2 separate regions of the Homo sapiens genome follow, and region 1 is linked to region 2. The links are contacts of gene promoters, found by promoter capture Hi-C in blood cells and fetal thymus (Javierre and others, 2016). All regions are on one chromosome and are shown on one strand. The core of a region is centred on a gene start or on the middle of the fragment in contact, and the rest is flanking DNA. Distances in the headings are between cores, read along the strand shown.

Region 1 (5,681 bases), core at 1,261-3,760, 120 kb before region 2:
GTGTATTTCCCCCAAATCCATATGTTGAAGCCCTATTCCCCAGTGTGATAATATTTGTAGATGGACCCTTTGGGAGGTAATTAGGGTTAGATGAAGTCATGAGGGTGGTGCCTGCATGATGGGATTAGTGCCCTTATAAGAAGCAATACTAGAGAGCTTGTGCTCTCCAAAGAGCACAAGAGAAAAGCCATGCAAGCACGCAGCAAGAAGATGGCTGTCTGCAAGCTAGGAAGAGAACCCTTACCAAGAACTGAATCAGCTGCATCTCCATCTTGTACTTCCAGACTCCAGAACTGTGAGTAAATTTGTGCTAAGTCACCTCATCTGTGTTGTTTTGTTATAGCCGCCTGAACTAAGACAACAAATCATCCTCAAATTTAGTGGCATAAAACATCAGCTGTTTATTATGTTTGTCGATTCCATGGGTCAAAATTTGGACAAGGCATGGTGGGATAGCTGGTCTCTGCTCCATGATGTCTGGGACCTCAGTTGGTGTCTTAGTCTACTCGGGCTGTCATAACAAAATACTATAGACTTGGCGGCTTAAATAAAAGAAATTGATTTTCTCACAGTTCTGGAGGCTGGAAGTCTGACAACAGGCAGTCAGCCTGACTGAGTTCTGGTGAGGGCTCTCTTCCTGGCTTGTAGACAGCCACCTTCTCATTGTGTCCTCGCATGGGCTTTCCTCAGTACATGCATGTGGAGAGGGAGAGAAAGCCATCTGGTAGCTCTTCTTATAAGAGCACTAATCCCATCATGAATGCCCCACTCTCAGGACCTCATCTAACCCGAATCACCTCCCAAAAGGGCCATCTCCAAATACCATTACGTTGGGGGTTGAGGCTTCAACGTATGAATTTGGGGGCGGTTACAAACATTCAGTTCATAAGAGCTGACAGCTGGGAAGCCTCAAATGGCTGGGGGGTGGTATCACCTAAGTGCCTTTTTACTGTGTCTGGCACCTTGAGTGGAATGGCTTAAATGACTGGGGGTTTATTCTCATTCTTTCTGTCTTTCTTCTTCCACATGGTGGCTCAGGGCTCTAAGAGCAAGTGTTTCAGCAAACAAGACAGAGTCCAGAGATCTTTTAGGCCATGGCCTCAAATGTCAAATGGCATCACTTCTGTTATAGTCTATGGTCAAAGCAGTTACAATCCTGCCCAGATTCAAGAGAAGCATCTTGGGCTACATGGGCTCTAGTTCTAAGGGAGAAGTATCAAAAACTTGTGGCGTTCTGTTAAAACTACCACAAGGGGTCCCTCTTTCTCACAAAGTCCTTACAATCCCAGGAAAGGACTCTGATTGGCCTCACTGGGGTCCAAGGACAACCTCTGGACCAATCACCATCAGTATGTTGATTTAGTGCCCTGAGTGGCCAGTCTCAGGTATAAGCTCCACCTTGTGCCATTTGATGGATTGTGTGACCTTGGAGGAAGAGGGTTTGGCTACGGAGTGCTTATGAAATTGACAGGAATCTTTGAGTTCATGGCAAGAGTCCATCAGCCTTTAAATGATGAAATGTACAGATTATTTTTTACCATTGTCTACTGGTAAAAATCAAGGAAGAAGGATAACTTGAGGCAAATAGCACTAAAACTGTACCCAAGCACTAAAACTGTACCTCACCCCTACCACTGCCTGCTCTTTGCTTGCGAGGACCAGGCAGGGAATTGGTCACCACATTCCCAGCCTCTCTCAACTTCCTGTCAATTCTCACCTCCACCTGGTGTCTCTCTCTCTCTCTTCTCCTCTTTCTCCAATCCAGCTCACCCTTTGCCAGACTTCACTTCCTGAAATGTGTCTTCTGCTTAGGTTGTTCCGCGACCCAAACTCCTGAGTAGGTCATTCAAAGCCAATCAAGGCCTGGCCCCAATTTACCTTTCTGACTCTATCTCCTGGAGCTCATCTGTGGGAACCCCTACCTACAGTCAGGCAGATCCTGAGAACACGCCTCGTGTTCTACCTCTGCTAACTTCGCCTGCCTTTCTGCACACCTGCACCTGAGCCAGCCTTCAAGGTCCAACTTCAGATCACCATCTCCTTGACACCATTCCTGATCACCCCAGACTTTGGGGTTTTACTCCTTCCCTAAACAAGTGCACTACATGCTATGTCCATTTCTGGTCTCTGTGTTTGTCTTCTCCATCCCATTCCCGCCAGATCCCCCTGGCAAGCTTGGTGTCCCCAACCCAGGAAGAATTATCCCCTGAAGCAGAAGGAATTTAAGAAACTTCAGGGATTCAGTATTAAGTTGCTTTTGTTGTTCAGCTCTGACTAGTGTGTCCCAGTACTGATAACTGGGTTCCTAACTTGTGTCCTGCAATAATAATGACATCCAACATTTCCAAGCATGGCCTAAGTGCTTTGATATATCCCCTTATTTAATAATAAAAACAATGCTAGTATTTTTTCCCCATTTTACAGAGGCAACTGAGACACAAAGAAGTTAAGTAATCTGTCCCCATTCAAGAGAGAGAACATGGGCTCCACCTCTTGATGAGGGAGTGGCAAACTTTAGGAGAGCATGTGGGACCAGAAACATTGTCGCAACCATTTGTAGAAAATACAGTCTAACACATCATACTCTCCTTCAGGTAATTTTATTTTCAGATAATTACTTTTTATTTTCAGATAATTTGAGAATTATAGAAGAGAGTTGTAAGGATGGTACAGAAAATTCCTGTAGGCCCTTCATCAAAGTTCCTCTAGTATTAATAACATCTTACATCCTCATGGTACACTGCTCAGGGCACATTCAGTCATTATATCTCCCAGTGTCCTCTGATCTGGGCAGTGTCTGGGCCTTTCCCTATCTTTTCTGACCATGATACTTTTGAAGAAGCTTGGGTCAGGTGTATACTCTCACTTTGAAAAAGCACACAAATCTCATGTTCAGCTTTAAGGATGTATGAAATTTTAAAAGTCAATAAAATTCCATGACCGCAGTGAAAATAGTTCTCGTATTGTATGCTCTTCCCATCATATATGACTGTCTAAAGATTGCGAACTCCTTGCCTGAGGCATATAAACCCTCTTTCTTACATGGAAAACAGCTCCTAGGCTGATCTGAGCTTCTGTTTCCACATCCAATAATAAAGGGGTAGTGGGGTGGACTACATAATCTACACTCTCTGCCTTGGCTCTAAAAGTAGATTTCATAAACTAAATTTCATGGACTTAAAAATAGAATTTTTGCTCCTTAATTCTTGATCAAATTTCTACCTTAATTTTAAGGGAAACACAATTAAATCAATATCTTTTCAAGTCTAAAACCTACACTTTTTCTGTCTCTGGGCATTCCTCTCCCCGTCTCTCCACTTCACCAGGCTCAAGACTGTGGGAGGACAGCGGGTGAGCTCAGGAGTCATCATCCCCCAGCCACCAGTGTGCCACCAGCTTTAAGGAAGCATTCAGAGCAGTTCTGATGAGTGAATGGCATCTCTTTCAGATGGACTACCCCGTTTGCCTCCTCACTGCTCTGTTTCTGATGCAAGTTTACTAACTTACATAACTTCCAAGTGCATTTTTCCCTCTAAAATTACACAGTCAGGTCCTCCAGGGCAGTGACCTGGGGCACTATTTCCTTTCCCTGCCCACACTGTGTCCACTTTAGGGGTGGTCAGGGAATATGCAATGACCTACTCACTCCTTGGGTATCAGCAAGACTCGTTCTGGGTATCTCCTAGTAAAATAATTTTTCATTCATTCATTCAACAAATGTTTTTAGACACCTATTATATGCCAGGGGCTGTTCTAGCTGCGAGGCCCTATTCTGTTGGGGATAGGATGTCCAACCTCTCAGATATTTGATATTTGAACATTGCTCTGGAAAATCCCCATCAATTGCTGGCTAAATGTATTGGAAGGATAAAATGGGGTATACATGGTGGCAAAGCAATGTGTGTCTGGGTTTAAGAATAAACAACAGGTTGTTTTATTCCAGGTGAAATATACTATGGGTTTTGCTTGCTCTTTGGTCTTGGATTGATGAGTTTTGCTATGCTTTTGACTCAAATGGCCTGTTCCTAGGTGCAAGGAGAGCCTAGAAATGTAATAAAGGTAAAATGAGGTCTCTGGGTTTAGAATCCATGTACTTTAGAGCAAGACAATTAAACCCAGTGATTTTAGATGGGGCTGGGAGGCTCATCACAGAACCAGCTTTGATTAGAGCTGCTCATTGTGCTCTGCCTTCCTTGAAACCAAAGGGTGCAATTTGGAAGTCACTGGACATCAGGAGACTCCCAGTGCTTCTAGAAACTTACCATCTCTTCCAGTTCTGCATCCCCTGTTCAAATGTCCTGTCAGCCACACCCTGACACACTCCAGCTTCCCTCGGCCTCTAGGTGGATGGGGACAGGACAAACCACACTTCTGAAGTCTTGATGCTGCAGGGATGCTCATTTTACTGTCTCTCAGCTTCAGAGAGAAACCCTTTCCTTTTCAAATAGGATCCAACTGTTTAAGAAAAAACATCTATTGAACTTTGTCTCTTCCTTTGGTCTCTTGGAAAGATGGATTTAGGTTTTGATTCTATCAAAACGAGGAATTGGCCTTATTCTGTAAGATCAGAGATTGGAGGGATTTCTCTTTCCTTTTCTTTTTCTTTTTTTTTTTTTTTTCATTTTTTAAACCCTAAGGGGCAGGTACTGACTGTCAAGAGAGCCACATCTGACTGCAGACTCCCCAGCGTGGCACCGGCTCTCCTGTGTGCAGACCTCAAGTACAGGTAGCCTGTGCTCCCTATCTGCAAGGGGCCGAGGCCCAGAGCCCATCTCAGAGGTCTGGGATTCAGCTGCCATGGGGTACATTCCAGGAGGTGCCATTCACATTATCATCCATGATGAGGTGATGCTGAGCCTGACAGATAAGAAAAGGGTCCCACTCTCCAACAGGCACTTGAAGCTCCAAAGACCTAGATTATTTAATGGAAGGAGGTAGTGTTGCTCCTGCGTCTAAACTGCTGTGTGACCTTCAGCATGGCGCTGAACCTCTCGGACCTGTGTTTCACCCATAAAGTATGGGGTTGAGCCAGACTGGCCTCCTGTTAGGTGCAGGCACAGGCAGGTTCCCTCTTCTTCAAACTGATGCTGACACAGCAAGAGGCCATTACATTAAGGGTTCCATCTTGACCAAATTTGCTTGGCCCCATTATAAAACATAGGTAAAATGTTTCCCTCTCACAAGCACTAAGGAGCATAAAGCTTCCCTTTTTCTTGCTTTTTTTTTTCTTAAATAGCAATAGCCACCAAAATGATACTTTGCATTGAAAATAGAAGGAAGTTGGGAGTGCAAGAGTGTCTGGAGGAGGGTACCAGGAATGAAAGATACATTTGCAAATGTAGTAAGAGGTGACTGGGTGTGATGCACGACTGCTGTTTGCTTGCTGGCTGGCATCCATCCCTCTTTCTCCACTATTGGGAGCTGATAGTGGTGGTGAACTGGCCTGTTTCTCCCGACCCTATCCACCTCTCCACCCCAGATACTGAGCCCTGCACCTTCATGCCTTAATTACTTTGAAATACTTCTTTACAATCACACACCCGATGACTCCCTTCATCATGCTGAATTCTAAATTGCGTTTGAAGTAGCTTCTCCAATGTTAGCCCTCTGATTAGCTTCTTTCTGAGCTCCAAAATGAGGGTAATCAGAGTGGAGGAAAGATTTTACTGCATGTGCTAGGA
Region 2 (5,045 bases), core at 1,914-4,413:
GTGTCAGCCGATAGCTCAGGCAGAGTTCTTTACCAGTAGGCAGACTCACTCAGTCAGCCAACACGAGCATGGACCACCCTTTGCCCTGGCTGGCCCTCCAGGTCCCTGCCGAGCTGGAGGGAGGACCACAAAGAGATCATGGTTGAGAAAGGTGGTGAGACTTCAAATTTTCCTCTTTTTTTTTTTTTGGTAGAAGTAACATTTGCACATTTTAGATAATATGAAAAAAATGCAGAAAAGAATAATGATGCAGAGGCAGAAAAGTAAAGACATCAGGTAGCTGGGATTAGAATTGTTTCCTCCCTGCTTTCCAACCTTTGTATAAGGCTGTTATATTTATAAAAAATACATCTTTAAAAAGGAACTCAACTGAAAGTTTATTTTATCAAAATAAAATAGAATTGTACCACATACTTGTTTAACTTATGCACAGACCTTGATGCCTACTGCCATGAGATGAGATGCCTCTAGTTCTTTATTTAAAAAAAAAATGAACTTTTCAGATGAGGGAGACTGTACTGATATCCTGGCTTTGCCACTAACTGCTGTGGGACCTCAGGTAGGTGATTCACCTTCTCTGAGCCTCAGTTTTCTCATGGTAAAATAGGCATCACATCCATGGGATTGTTGTGAAGATTAGAGATGATGTGTGTGTATGTGTCAAACACCTGGCACGTGGAAAGTACTAAACAAGCGGAAGCTAGTCAGAGGTAGGCAAATTTGTTCAATCAAGAAGTATTGGCCGGCCACGGTGGCTCATACCTGTAATCCCAGCACTTTGGGAGGCCAAGGCAGGCGGATCACTTGAAGTCAGGAGTTTGAGACCAGCCTGGCCAACATGGTGAAACCCCGTCTCTACTAAAAATACAAAAATTAGCCAGACGTGGTGGCGCATGCTTGTAGTCCCAGCTACTCAGGACGCTGAGGCAGGAGAATGGCTTGATCCTGAGAGGCGGAGGTTGTAGTGAGCCGAGATCGAACCACTGCAGTCCAGCTTGGGTGACACAGCAAGACTCTATCTCAAAAAAACAAACAAACAAAAATGTATTTACTGAGCCTCTACCCTGAGCTAGGTGCTTTTCCCGTTGCTGGGAACAGTAGTAAACAAGATAGAAAATAACTTCCTCGCTATCTTCTGTTCTCAAATTCCAAAAAGATAGCAAATCAATCTAGAAAGTAGGATCTGTGTTACTATTTGAAGGGTAATTACATTCTGAATGAGGGCGAGGTGACGGAGTCCTCAGGACGGCACCTGCTGGAAAAGTGGGCAGAATGCAGGTTGCTAGGATGCAGAGCTTCAGTGGCGCAACTTTGCAGGGAACTGCTTGGCTCCCCAAATAGATCTCTTGTCTTTTCCCTTTGCTGCTGCCTTCCCCCCTGCACAGACAAAGCCAGGAGTGTCTCAGGAAAGCTCAGGAAGCCTCTGCCTCTGACTGAAACCCCAGAGAATGTCATCTGCAGTCACAGGCAACAGCCTGGCTCAAAACGCACCCCTTGAAGATTAGGCCTCCCTCAGCCCTCAGGATCACTTGATATTCCTGTTCTTCAGGGTTCACCAGACACATGGCTTAAATTAAAACTGTTCTGCCACATCACTGAGCAGCTTCTGTTCCTGATATGCAAAGGTTGAAAGGAGAAGTCATTTTTATTAAAAGCAGGAAAATTCACATTGTTCTCCCTGGTAGCACCACTTCCAAGCACAAAAGTGATGGAGGCTGAAACGAAAAGGGAGTCCCATCCCCTTGGGGAAATGAACCATTTCTGTAGAAACCAAGGACCACTCTAGGCAGCCAACTTGGGCAGCACTGTTAGTAACCACATCACAGCAACCACCATGTGGGAACATCTGGGGACAGATAGACACTGGGTTGGGAGTATTATCACAGCAGCCCTGTGAGGAGGTACCACCCACCCCCCAACTCAGATGGGGAAACCAAGGCTAAGTCAGAATAATGGCTTGCTTAGATGGCAAGAGGTGGAATAAGTTGGGGAGCTTTATTTTGAGGCGTTTTTGCAACTTTCTCAGTCCCATTTTACTCATTGTTAGAAAACAATGGACAAAAGCTTCCAGAAAAGTAATCAGCCAGGATGCCTAGCAATGTAGCTGGACTCTTGGCAGACCTCTCAGGATTAGCTGGTTTAGAAGGAAGGCGGTTTTGTTGAGGCCTTTCTCTGCTCCCTCCACCCCTCCCCTCTCCGAATCAGGAATACTTGGTGCTCATGGAGTACAAGGGCTTCCAACTAAAATAAAATAGATAATAATTCAACATAAATGTCCCCTAAAGAACGATGGGAATGATGAAGGGTCGTTGAAGTTTGTTTCCAAGTGTGAGGGGCCGAACTACTAAGAAAGTGCTTTTCAATATAAATGTGATAAATCTGATCTCTTGACACGTTATTCTTGGTAGCCCTCCTCCCGTATAATATCCCAAAGGGGATGAACTGCCCCTTTGACGTGGGTTCTAACCTACAACTGTTTCATGAACACGCGCTCACTCGACCTGTCAGGACCTGTGTCCTCGGGACCCCCAGGCGGCACAGCTTCAGGGCTCACATTCCCCCCAGCCAGTCACTCTCCACTCGAAACTCCACAGAGTTCTTGGAATTTTCCTCGCTTGCTGCGAGGAGAATCCCAAGTGAGTCTGCTGTGTTGGAGCCATTAAAAAGCAGCCAAACTCTACAGATTTGAGGTAAGAGACACCGTAAAAAGGCAGAAAGAGCTAGTGGCGCGGACTTGTTTCTGGCTCATGAGTTGGCCTAGCGAGGCCCTTTCCCCTCTCTCGACCTCAGTTTCCCCTTCTGTAAAACAAAGGAGGTTCGGTAGCACTAAGGCGAGACAGCGAAGCTCCCCTCAGGCCTGACAAAAGGATGGTCTCCGGGCCCTGGAGCCTCCCTCTGAGAACGCGATTCACCCGGAGCGCGGGGGCGCCCGGGCGCGTCCGCAGGCTTCCCCGCCCGCCCGCACGCACCCCGGGCGATCCGCTCTCCGCCGCGCCCCCGCACCCAGCCCCGCCCCGGCGATTCCTCTCCCAGCCCCGGCGCGTGGAACCCCGCCCTCCCCTGAGTCCCCGAGCCTGGCGAGCGGAGGGCGGGGCGGGGCGGGGCACGCGGGAGGCGGAGCCGAGCCGGGGAATCCTGCTCTGGGATAGCACCCGGCCCCGCAGAGCAGCGCGGCAGCCCAAGGGCCCCGGCGCCGGGGGCGGCGGGGAACCCCAAACGCAACCGGGTCTGGAGGGATCCCCGCGCCGAGCCAGCCGCCGTCACCGCCTCCGCGCCGCCCCTGCGGGCTTGGCAGGCGCCCGGCGCGCCCGCACTGCGCCCGGCCGCCGGCTCCCGCGGTCCCACCGTGAGCTCGCCGGCCCGTCGCCCGCTCGCCATGCAACCGCCGCCGGCCTCGCGCGCGTAGGCGCCCGCCGCAGGCCATGCTGCCCCTGCTCGCCGCGCTCCTGGCCGCCGCCTGCCCGCTGCCGCCCGTCCGCGGCGGGGCCGCGGACGCGCCCGGCCTCCTCGGGGTGCCCTCCAATGCTTCAGTCAACGCGTCCTCCGCGGACGAGCCCATCGCCCCGCGGCTGCTGGCCTCGGCGGCCCCCGGGCCCCCCGAGCGCCCGGGCCCGGAGGAGGCGGCGGCGGCGGCGGCGCCGTGCAACATCAGCGTGCAGCGGCAGATGCTGAGCTCGCTGCTCGTGCGCTGGGGCCGCCCGCGGGGCTTCCAGTGCGACCTACTGCTCTTCTCCACCAACGCGCACGGCCGCGCTTTCTTCGCCGCCGCCTTCCACCGCGTCGGGCCGCCGCTGCTCATCGAGCACCTGGGGCTGGCGGCGGGCGGCGCGCAGCAGGACCTGCGCCTCTGCGTGGGCTGCGGCTGGGTGCGCGGTCGCCGCACCGGCCGCCTCCGGCCCGCCGCCGCCCCCAGCGCCGCCGCCGCCACCGCCGGGGCGCCCACCGCGCTGCCAGCCTACCCCGCGGCCGAGCCGCCCGGGCCGCTGTGGCTGCAGGGCGAGCCGCTGCATTTCTGCTGCCTAGACTTCAGCCTGGAGGAGCTGCAGGGCGAGCCGGGCTGGCGGCTGAACCGTAAGCCCATTGAGTCCACGCTGGTGGCCTGCTTCATGACCCTGGTCATCGTGGTGTGGAGCGTGGCCGCCCTCATCTGGCCGGTGCCCATCATCGCCGGCTTCCTGCCCAACGGCATGGAACAGCGCCGGACCACCGCCAGCACCACCGCAGCCACCCCCGCCGCAGTGCCCGCAGGGACCACCGCAGCCGCCGCCGCCGCCGCCGCTGCCGCCGCCGCCGCGGCCGTCACTTCGGGGGTGGCGACCAAGTGACCCGCTCCGCTCCTCCCTGTGTCCGTCCTGTGTCCGCGCGCGCGGGTGCCTTTCCCGCCGGAGACTCGGCCGGTGTGCTTCGTGCTGTAGTTATCGTTAGTTCCTCTTCCCGAGATGGGGCCGCCGAGAGACCCCAGCGCCTTTGAAAAGCAAGGTTTGTGCTGCGCTTCCAGTTCCGAAAAGCAGATGTTTAAGCCCTTGGACTGAGGGTGGGATCGCAGCTCCGAAGACGGAGAGGAGGGAAATGGGGCCCTTTCCCCTCTATTGCATCCCCCTGCCCGACTCCTTCCCCGCACCCACGTGCCCTAGATTCATGGCAGAAAATGACCAAATCCTGTGTATTTGTTTTATATATTTAATAACTGTTTTAAATGAAAGTTTTAGTAAAAAAAATACAAAACAAAAAGATTAAATTGCTATTGCTGTAGTAAGAGAAGCTCTTTGTATCTGAACATAGTTGTATTTGAAATTTGTGGTTTTTTAATTTATTTAAAATTGGGGGGAGGGCATGGGAAGGATTTAACACCGATATATTGTTACCGCTGAAAATGAACTTTATGAACCTTTTCCAAGTTGATCTATCCAGTGACGTGGCCTGGTGGGCGTTTCTTCTTGTACTTATGTGGTTTTTTGGCTTTTAATACAGACATTTTCCTCCAGAGATGTGTATGTAGCTTTTTCTTTATTTGATTTGGGAAAGGGAATCCCAGAATTGCAAGA

Evidence for each region. Contacts are between HindIII fragments. The CHiCAGO score rates a contact against its expected background, and 5 or more counts as called.
Region 1: a contact is called between a fragment that was not itself captured here and the fragment with the promoter of TMEM158 in region 2, in 3 of 17 cell types (M1 macrophages, megakaryocytes and M2 macrophages). The highest score is 6.0, in M1 macrophages.

The regions. Positions count from the first base shown.
Region 1 is chr3:45,339,765-45,345,445 of GRCh38, reverse strand. LOC105377062 (a long non-coding RNA gene) reads left to right here. Exons shown (of 3, transcript XR_940798.2): 2 at 2,425-2,594. Among named protein-coding and RNA genes, the nearest start is that of LARS2, 46 kb to the left of the region's middle. The HindIII fragment of the contact is 668 bases long and covers 2,177-2,844 here.
Region 2 is chr3:45,224,405-45,229,449 of GRCh38, reverse strand. It overlaps TMEM158 (transmembrane protein 158), which reads left to right and starts at 3,163. Exons shown (of 1, transcript NM_015444.3): 1 at 3,163-4,984. The coding sequence starts at 3,423. The coding sequence ends at 4,325. RefSeq lists silencers at 2,917-3,256, 3,267-3,336. The HindIII fragment of the contact is 4,918 bases long and covers 2,067-5,045 here.